Linked DNA regions of Homo sapiens: region 1 is linked to region 2. The links are contacts of gene promoters, found by promoter capture Hi-C in blood cells and fetal thymus (Javierre and others, 2016). All regions are on one chromosome and are shown on one strand. Each heading gives the region's core, a stretch centred on a gene start or on the middle of the fragment in contact. The rest is flanking DNA. Distances are from core to core; before and after follow the strand shown. Region 1 has its middle 31 kb from the start of DUSP22. Region 2 holds the start of IRF4 (interferon regulatory factor 4).

Region 1 (5,365 bases), core at 1,704-4,203, 130 kb after region 2:
TATAAAAGTTAGCTGCGTTTGGTGGCATACACCTGTAGTCCCAGCTACTTGGGAGGCTGAGGCAGGAGAATCACTTGAACCCAGGAGGTGGAGATTGCAGTGAGCCGAGATCATGCCATTGCACTCCAGCCTGGCGAAGGAGCGAGTCTTCGTTTAAAAAAAAAAAAAAGAATCAATAAACCCAAATGTTGGCTTGTTAAAAAGTGCCACAAAATTGGCAAGTCTTCAGCTAAAGCAGCAAACCAAAAAGAGAGAAGACACATATAACTAAAATAAGAAATGAAAGTGGAGGTATTAGTACAGATTTTACAGAAATAAAAAATTATAAGAGAATACTATGAACAACTGTATGCCAACAAATTAGATAACCTAGATGAAATTGATGAATTTCTGGAAACACACAAATTACCTGAAGTGACTCATGAAGAAATAGAAAATCTCAACAAATATAAAACAGGAGATTGAATCAGTAATCAAAACCTCCTAACAAAGATATGTCCAAGACCAGATGGCTTCACTGGTAAATTATACTAAACATTTAAAGAATTAACACCAATTCTCTATAAACTCTTCCTCCCATCCTTGAAATAGAGGAGGGAATACTTTTTATGGGAACTCATATTATAAGGACATCATAACCCAGATGTCAAACTAGAAAAAGACATCAGAAGAAAAGTATAGACCAATATCCCATATGAATAGAGATGCAAAAACTTCAACAAAATACTAGCAAACCAAATCAAATGACACATTAAAATAATTATACACCATGACTCAGTAGGATTTACCCCAGGATGCAAAGGTGGCTCAAAATTTTGAAATAATCAATGTAACAGATCAATTAAATTAATATAACAAGGGGAAAAGATGCATGCTCATCTCAATTGATGCAGAAAAGGCATTTTCAACCCCCTTTCATGATTTTTTTAAACCCAGAAAACTAGGAAATAGAAAGGAACTGCCTAAATATGATAAAGAGCAATTATAAAAAACCCACAGCTAACAGCATACTCAATAGTGAAGCTTTCTCCTTTAAGATTTTTTAGATTTCCTCCTAACAAGACAAGGATGCCCACTTTCATTCCTTCTATTCAACATTATAAGTTCTAGCCACAAAAATTAAACAAGAAAAAGAAAGGACAGGCATTCAAATGAAAAAGGAAAAAGTAGTACTATCTCTATTTGTGAGGACATGATCCTATATATAGAAAATTCTAGAGTCGACAGGAATACAAATCCAGCAAAATCACAGGCTACAAGATTAACACAAAAAACTCAGTTGTGTTCCTATATACCAGCAATAAACAATCAAAAAAGAAAATTAAAGCAATTCCATTTATAACAACTTCTAAAAGAATAAACACCTAGAGATAAATGTAACTAAGTGGGTGAAAGAATTGTACAGTGAAAACTACAAAACTTTGCTGTAGGAAATTAAAGAAAGAAATTAAAGAAATAAATGGAAAGACATTTTGTGTTCACAGATTAGAAGACTTAATACTGTTAAGCTGTTAATAGTACCTGAAGCAATACATAGATTCAATAAAATCGCTTTCACAATTCCAGCAGCCTTTGCTGCAGAAATGAAAAAGTCAATCCTCAAATTCATAGGCAATTGCAAGGGCCCTGGAATAGTCAAAACAATCTTTAAAAAGAAAAACAAATTTGGAGGAGTCACACTTCCTAATTTCAAAGCTTACAAAGTTACAAAAAGCAAAACAATGTGGTACTGGCCTAGATATAAACATATAAACCAATGTAATAGAATGAGAGTCCAGAAATAAACCCATACATCTATGGCCAATTTATTTTATTTTATTTTATTTTATTTTATTTTATTTTATTTTATTATTTTATTTATTTTTGAGATGGAGTCTTGCTCTGTCACCCAGGCTGGAGTGCAGTGGCATGATCTCAGCTCACTGCAAGCTCCACCTCCCGGGTTCACACCATTCTCCTGCCTCAGCCTCCCAAGTAGCTGAGACTACAGGCGCCCACCACCACACTTGGCTAATTTTTTTGTATTTTTAGTAGAGACAGGGTTTCACCATGTTAGCCAGGATGGTCTCAATCTCCTGACCTCATGATCTGCCCACTTCAGCCTCCCAAAGTGCTGGGATTACAGGCATGAGCCACCGTGCCCAGTATGGCCAATTTATTTTTGACATAGATGCCAAGTTCATTCAAGGGAGGAAGTAATAGTCTTTTCCACAAACAGTGCAAAGACAATTGGATTTCAATATGCAAGAGAATGAAGTTGGACCCTTACCTCACATCATATATAAAAGTTAACTCATGGATCAATGATCGTAAAATCTTTGAATACACAGAAGATTTTTTTAGGGCAGTGAAAAGATTCTGTATAATACTGCAATGATGGATACATTTGTTTAAACCTGTAGAATATACAACACAAAGTGTGAATTCTAAGGTAAACTACGAACTTTGGGTGATTATGGTGTGTCAAGGTAGGTTCATTAATTGTATGCACCACTCTCATGAGATATTTTGATAGTGGGGGAGGCTGTGCATACGTAGGATAAAAGGCACATGGGAAATTTTTGTATCTTCCACCTAATTTTGCTGTGAACCTAAAACTCCTCTAAAATAATAAAGTCTTAAAACAAAACTCTTAGAAGACAACATAGGAATAAGCTGTTATAATCTTGAGTTCAGTAGTAGATTTTCAGGACACCAAAAGCACAAGAAACAAAAGAAAGAGTAGATAAATTTGACTTCATCAAAATATTTGTATATCAAAGGACATTATCAAGACAGTAAAAGACAACTACAGAATGGGAGAAAATATTTGCAAATCATATATCTGGAATGGGATTAATATCCAGAATATATAAATAACTCCCGGAACTCAACAACAAAAATACAAAACATATAACCCAATACATAAGAAGGAGAAAGGACCTGAATAGACATTTCTCCAAAGAAGATTTGCAAATAATTGGTCATTAATCTCAACATTATTAATCATTATAAAAATGCCAATCAAAACCACAATGAGACACCACTTTACAGCTACTAAGATGACTATAATTTTAAAAACACAAAATAAATGTTTACAAGGATGTAGAGAAATTGAAACCTTTGTACATTGATAGCAGGCATTTAAAATGGTGCAGTCATTGTGGAAAACAGTTTGGTGTGGTTCCTTCAAAAGTCAAGTGTAAAATTGCCACATGACCCAGCAATTCCATTCTTACATATATAACCAAAGAATTGGAAGTGGGGACTCAGCTACTTGTATGATAATGTTTATTGCAGATTGATTCTCAACAGCCAAAAGATGGAAACACCCCATATCCATCAGTATATGAACGGATAAACAAAATGTGGTATATGCATACAATGCAATATCATTTAGCCTTGAAAAGGAATAAAATTCTGATACATGCTACATATGGATGAACCTTGAAGACATTATGCTAAGTGAAATAAACTAGTCATAAAAAGACAAATACTGTACAGTTCCACTTATATGAGGTACCTGTGTCAGGCAAATTCACAGACAGAAAGCAGAATGGTCGTTGTTAGGGGCAAGAATGTGGAGGGAAGGAGGAGTTATTGTTTATTAGTTAGAGTTTCAGTTCAGAAAGATGAAAAAAGTCCTGGCAATGGAGAGTGGTGATGGTTGCACTACAATGTGAATGCGATTAATGCCACTGAACTGTACACTTAAAAATTGTTAAAATGGTATATTTTATGTTACGTATCTTTTACCACAATAAAAATTTATCTAAACTTTCATTTTTGCTTTTTAGCTACCTGGTTAAAACGAAACAAAGATGTAAGTTTGGGGTTTATTTTTGACCATTAAAGAGCACTCAGTTTGTGGTTGTAATATGCTTCCTGCAATATAGTAAGCCTTAAAACGAAAGTGTCTCTTGCACAGCCTAGATGGTCAATAAATCCATTGTGTAAATTTTGTTGGTGTTTGTGATTTGTCACCTATGCCTTCTTATAATAATTGTCCCTTGAGGAACTGTCTCAATGAGAATCCTCAAAGTAACTGTAATGTGCCTTATAAATATGTTGATTTATGCAGGGGTGTCCAATCTTTTGGCTTCCCTAGACCACATTGGAAGAAGAATTGTCTTGGGGCACACATGAAATACACTAACTATAGTTGATGAGCTAAAAAAAATTGCCAATAAATTAAAAAATCTCATAATGTTTTAAGAAAGTTTACAAGCTTGTGTTGGGCCGCATTCAAAGCCATCCTGGACTGCGTGTGGCCCATGGGCCATGGGTTGGACAAGCTTGATTTATGTGGAAGCACATAAAAGGCAAATGCACACATACGTGAAATTCTCTCCAAAGATTAATTACTTGGTCACCGCAGTTTCTTTCCACCAGAATGTAAATTCTATTTTGTTTAGTGCTGCATGCCTAGCTACTACAATAGCATATAGTAAGTGCTCAATAAATAACCGTTGAAAGAATTCTAACACTAATTTGAAAGAAATCCTCTGTCTTCAGCTTCTTAGCTTGTAATTTTGATGTTAGGGACAAGCAACATGGAAAGACTCCCAAAACAAAAGAGGCACCAGTGTCAGCAGCAGGGAAAGGGAAGAGGGGAGGAGGAAGCGATTGCGTGCCCCCATGCCCACAGAGGGGTACTGGGTCCCCAGTCCTGTTCATCTTTGCTGGTGCCTATCCTGGTCTGAGGTTGGAGCTCAGCTCATTGCCTCTGTTGGTGGGACCATGCTGGCAGTACTGGGAACAGAGTGTTTATTGAAGAAGTGAGATACAGTGGCTTTCACAAGAGTTTTCAAATGATCATTTAAAACTTCATCACAGCCCTATTCACAATAGCAAAGACATAGAATCAACCTAGGTGTCCATCAACTGTGGAGCAGATTAAAAAAATGTGGTACATATACTTCATGGAATATTATGCAGCCATAAAAAAGAATGAGCTTGGCCAGGTGCAATGGTTCACACCTGTAATCCCAGCACTTTGGGAGGCCAAGGCGGAAGGACCACTTGGAGCCAAGAGCTTGAGACCAGTCTGGACAACATAGCAAGACCCTGTCACTACAAAAGTAAAAAATAAAAACTCAGGCAAGTGTGGTGGCATGCACCTGTAGTCTTAGCTACTCAAGAGGCTGAAGCAGGAGAGTTGCTTGAGTCCAGGAGGTCAAGGCTGCAGTGAGTGACAGAGCACAATCTTACCTCTATCAAAAAAAAAAAAAAATGTCCTTTGCAGCTGGAGGTCATTATCCTAAGTGAATTAATTAACACAGGAATAGAAAACCAAACACTGCATGTTCTCACTTATAAGTGGGAGCTAAGCACTGGGCATTGGGTACACATGGACATAAAGATGGAAACACTAGACACTGAGGAC
Region 2 (5,130 bases), core at 1,654-4,153:
CCTCTAGAGTAGCTGGGCCCTCGGCCTACAGGTGTTCACCACCATGCCTGGCTAATTTTTTTAATTATTATTTTTTGCAGAGGCAGGGTCTCACTATGTTGCATAGGCATCCTTCCACCTCATCTTCCCAAAGTGCTGGGATTACAGGTGTGAGCCACCATGCTAAACCCAAAATACAGATATTTTATAAGGAATCTTGAAATTGTATTTCTAAAAGAAAGAATGGCGCATAGGTCCTTCAGATTTACACCGTTGCTCAGAACGTAAACTGAAAGACCCCAGCTATGCTCTAGGAAAATGATTTTCCATCTTGGACCCTATCACTGCCAAGTTGAAGACACATTTTCTGGGTATTTATAACCGGTAGAGTGAGATGCGGAGGTTCCTTGAGGGGGCTCTACCCACCCAGTGTCTGAGTGAGCTTGCCTAGGACTAAGGACAGCTGTGGTGTGAGCTGTCACCCACAGGAGACATCTGGATGGCAGCACAGCTGAGGCACTCTGAGAGCAAATTGAGACCAAATTCCCGGAGGAAGTCCCCTTCCCCTGCTCTGCCCACAGGTGGGGGCTGGGCCCAGACACGTAGTTCTCTGGGTAAACTGCCTTAGGGGAGAACAATCGTAACAACGACACACGTGTGTGCACTCGCGCAAAGGGCAAGGGAGACAGCTCTAGACAGAGGCCCTGAGTTCCACTGCGATGGGGGAAAGAGAGAGACAGAGACACACAAAGAGAAAGACAGAGGTGGGAGTACCCGCAGAGAGCTAGCAGGAGCGAGAAGAGAGGCTGACCTCAGGAAAAACATGGAGAGAGAGAGACTCAGAGAGAAAAGCAGCGAAAAGAGAAACAGAGACGCGGTGAGAGACGAAAACAGCCGCCGGCACAGGCGCGGACGCACGGAGAGGGCGAGGGGGACCCACGGACGGAGGCGGCAGACGGGAGCCCGGAGGAAGGGCGGGAGGCTTGCGTGGAAACGAGAACGCACGGACGAACGCGCAAAACCCCTCAAGCCTTTGGCCGCCCTTCCCCGGGCCCGGCCGGGCCTTCAGCGGTTTCCCTGCAGCCTCCACGCGCCCAGGACCCGGCTCCCGGCCCCCGCGGTCCCGCTGAGAGCCGAGGCCTCCTTTCCTCCTCCTGCGGCTCCGGCGACGCCACCTGATGCCTCCGCCGCCCGCCCGTCCGCCCCGCGCGGTCCCCTGGGCTCGCCTCGGAGGCGGCGCCGGGGACCCCGGGCTCTGTCTCTGGGCCCTCCCCGGCGCGCCCCCGCCGGCTCCCGAGGCCGGAGACCTTGAAGAGCGCGGCGTCCTCCTCGCGGTTGTAGTCCTGCTTGCCCGCGTGCTTCCAGGGGATGCGGAAGATGCTCTTCTCCTCGTTCTCCCACACCAGCCCGGGGTACTTGCCGCTGTCGATCTGGTCGATCAGCCACTGGCGGAGCTTCCCGTTGCCGCAGCTCACCGCGCTCATGCCGAACTCTCCGCCTCGGCCGCCGCCCTCCAGGTTCATGCCCCGCGTGCCGTCCGCGCCCGCGCCCGGGGTCCTCCGCCCGCTCTGCTCTGCACTGCGGGGAGAAGAGCTGCCCTTCAGCCACGAGGCACCGCACTCCGGGCACCCCGCCCCGATCCCCTGCGCCAGTGACCACGAGGCCCCGGAGTCTTTGAGGCTGCGAAGCGCGCGCGTGCCGTGTCAGGGTCGTCCGGGCCCCCGGAAGAAGGCACCTTCGCGGCCGGCCCGGGCGCATCCCCTGGGCGGGCACAGCCGTCCGCCTTCCGAGCTCGGCCCCCGCGAAGGCTCCTACCCGCCTGCTCTCCTGTAACGCACCCGCAGCCCAAAGGCTCCCGACACGCGCCGCTCGTCTTGCACCCTCTCTCCCCACCCAGCCGCCACCCCTCCTGGCCCTCCTTCCGCACTCACTCGCAGCTCTCGCTTGCCTTCGCTCACTCCCAACCCGCTTCTCGCCCCTTCCCCGCGACTCTGTCAGTTTCCACTCCCCTGGCGGCCTCCACGCGCGGAGGACCTCGCCTGCGGCCGGGCGTTCCAGGGGCGCAGCCCCGGGTTCCTCCACCCTCCGCTTTCTCTGCTCGCATCCAGACCCTTCGCCCCGAATAGGACCCCTATCCCTGCCCAGCTAGCGCGCACTAAGTGGGCTCTGCAAACGACAAGTGGCGCAGACGCGGGGGCTGCAGCCCCAGTACGGGGGATTCCGCGCGCAGAGCGTCCGCCGGACCCCGGAGCAGGCCCGGGAGAGCGGAGGCGGGGAGGGCGCGGGAGAGGGCGACGACAGCTGCGGAGCCTGGGAGGCAGGGACCGCGCCAGGCCGGCTAGGCCACCGCACGCAAGGCTCGGAGCGACCCAAATGTGGAGCTCCTCCTCCTCCTGCGCCAGCGGGTGAGCACCGCGCCGGAGGCCGCCGTGAGCTTGGGCCCCTTAGGAACGAAGAGCAGGGGAAGGAGCCTCGGATTGGGGTCCACAGGGCCGGGCCTGTTTCTCGCAGGCAGTTGTGCCGTCTTGTGTGGGTGCCTTGGACGGCCCCGCCTCAGCCACTCCTGGGGCCCCGACAGTCCGGTTAGCTCATCCCGTCCAGCTTGTGGCGACCCCGTCGCAGGAGCGCGGAGGGCAGGCGGGGAGGCTCGGGCAGAGCCAAGGAGGCGGGCCTTGGAGCCCAAACCAGCGCCTCCGGCTCAGCGCAGATGGGGTGGGAGTCGGAGCTCCAGGACGGGGCGCGCTCCCTTCCCGCTCCGAAGCCGGGGTACCCTGCGCTGCCCTGGAGGTCGAACCTCTGGTTCGCGCTCCGGGTCCTCTCTGGTATCAGCCTCACACCCCTCCTCCTGCCCGACTCCAGCCCTTACCTCGCCCTGGACTCGGAGCTGAGGGCAGCGGTGGGTCCCAAGATCGAGCGGTGAAACTGAGAGTGCGAGGTGGGAAAGAGGAACTTTATAGAACTCTCTGGGGCGGGGCCTGGGGCGGGGCGGGGCGCCGAGGCCTGTGGGGGCCGGGGGTTGGACTGGGGAGAGGGACTTTGCAAGCCGAGAGCCGGGGCCGGCCGGGCGGGCGAGCCTCAGGGCCGGCGTGAAGGCTGGGGGCTGCCGCGGCCGGGGTGGGGTTCCCGCGCCCTTGGCGACCCTCCGCGCGCCGCGCCCGGAGAGCGCACCTCCAGCCGGGCGCGCGCCGCTTCGGGGACTGTCACTGGGGCCGTTTCCCGCGAAGGGCGAGGTGCGAAATGCGAATCTCGCCTTTGCGCCAGGACCTCAGGAGGCCAGTCAATCACTAAACTGCAGCGATGTGGCCAGGGCGGGAAATGGGGGGCGTGTAGTAGCGGGAATCTGGTGCGAAGGGGACTTCGCTTTGCAGAGCGTGTAACGGAAGACGGAGGAATGGTCCAAAGAGAACTGGAGGTGGAGGTTGCGGGAGCACCCTCGGCAAGGCCATCACCGGGAACCCTGCCTCTCCGCGGTGTTTAGAGAACATCGCACTCACTAAAAAGAAAATAGGAAATGGCCCAGCTCCCTTGAGCTATTAAGCTTGATTCAAATACTGTCTCTGCGTGTCTGACATGCTTACATCCTTTTGCATCTATTAGGCTGGTGAATTGAAGTGACTCAGACAATGCCCCGGCCCCGAAGTTTTAATTATCTTAGCATGAAAGAGATGGGGGCGGGGAGAGGCTCCCTAAGGATCCAAGTGCTTAATCACTTCCAGACTTCAGTTCACCTTAAAATGATGTCGTTTTAACCTCAACCTGGAGGAAAGCAGTTTACCAGTGGGGTATAAAAGCCCAAAATAGGCCAGGCGCTGTGGCTCAAGCCTGTAATCCCAGCACTTTGGGAGGCCGAGGCGGTGGATCGCCTGAGGTCAGGAGTTCGAGACCAGCCTGGCCAACACGGTGAAACCCCATCTCTACTAAAAATACAAAAATTAGCCGGGCGTGGCCCCAGCTACTTGAGAGGACGAGCCACGAGAATCGCTTGAACCCGGGAGGCTGAAGTTGCAGTGAGCCGAGGTGGGCGACAGAGCAAGACTCCATCTCAAAATAAATAAATAAAAGCCCAAAATAGGAATAATACTTAAGTGGACCAGGGATTTTACATACTTTTCCAAGATGTCCTTAATCGCAAAATTAACCCCCTGAGCTTTCACCCGTTGAGCTTTCGATCGTCTGAGATGCTGAGTATGTGCATTTACTTCGCATTTTCAGGTAAACCATCAGATCTCTGGTTTCTATATGATTTTAGACCACCACCACCGTAGGTCAACCTGCAACTTTTGAAAAGCTTTTGATTTCACTTATTTCTCAGTTTTTGTTTTAATCTTATATATTGGGTCAATGTCTCCTAACCAAAGAAGAATCTATGTTTAGGCTAGAGCAAAACAGGTAGTGAGGTATGGATAGGTATGCTTTTCCTAAAACCAACAGACGTTCTCAGAAATTAACAGGATGCCATTTTTTATTTCACCCAAGTAAGTTTTCCATTACCAAAGTCTATGTAATAAACAACAGGGTTTTGTTCACAAAAAGTTCTGGTCACAACCTGTTTTTCTTCCTTTCCTTTCACAGATTTATTCACTTGACAAATGTATTTTGAGCACCTGCTACTTGTCAGGAACCGTCCTAGGCACTTGGAACACATCAGTGAACAAAGCAAAGATCGTTGCCTTCTTGTTGCATTATATTTTAATCAGTGTTACCTTTCCCTCAAACGTTCACAAACATACCAGAGAGGAGTTTGCTGAGGACAAAAAATGGCAAATGAGAGCTTTTTGCACTTTCGTATACGTGTCCTCTGCACCGGGTTTAGTCATTTTCAACATACCCTCCCCTCACTCATCCACATCCTCTGCTTTTAGTTCAGAACAACAGTCGTTGTGTGAAACTCTGAGCCTTCACACCACTACCTTGTTTTTAAATGTAATTGCTAATCTTCAACGCCATCTTCTGGTTTACTCATTTGCCATATTGATCCACTAGAAGTTATTTTTCTTAATGATGATGTGAATACAAGTAATAAAACATTTTAATCACTAAAACTCCGGATGGCCTCATTACCCGTCAGGGAGGCAGTGAACAGGTAGCAGCTGGCAGTGGTGACCAAGGACTTTTATATCTTAGTCACGATTGAAACAAAAAACGGCAAAG

What was found. The method cuts DNA at HindIII sites, captures the fragments that hold promoters and counts their contacts. A CHiCAGO score of 5 or more calls a contact.
Region 1: a contact is called between a fragment that was not itself captured here and the fragment with the promoter of IRF4 in region 2, in 2 of 17 cell types (total B cells and naive B cells). The highest score is 6.8, in total B cells.

Annotation. Positions count from the first base shown.
Region 1 is chr6:258,513-263,877 of GRCh38, reverse strand. No RefSeq gene overlaps it. Among named protein-coding and RNA genes, the nearest start is that of DUSP22, 31 kb to the left of the region's middle. The HindIII fragment of the contact is 2,512 bases long and covers 1,698-4,209 here.
Region 2 is chr6:389,525-394,654 of GRCh38, reverse strand. It overlaps IRF4 (interferon regulatory factor 4), which reads right to left and starts at 2,903. Exons shown (of 9, transcript NM_002460.4): 1 at 2,846-2,903; 2 at 1,287-1,557. The coding sequence starts at 1,502. RefSeq lists enhancers at 487-536, 577-686, 4,884-4,933 and silencers at 1,747-1,856, 1,967-2,016, 2,187-2,236, 2,517-2,586, 2,827-3,216 and 3 more. The HindIII fragment of the contact is 5,232 bases long and covers 1-3,519 here.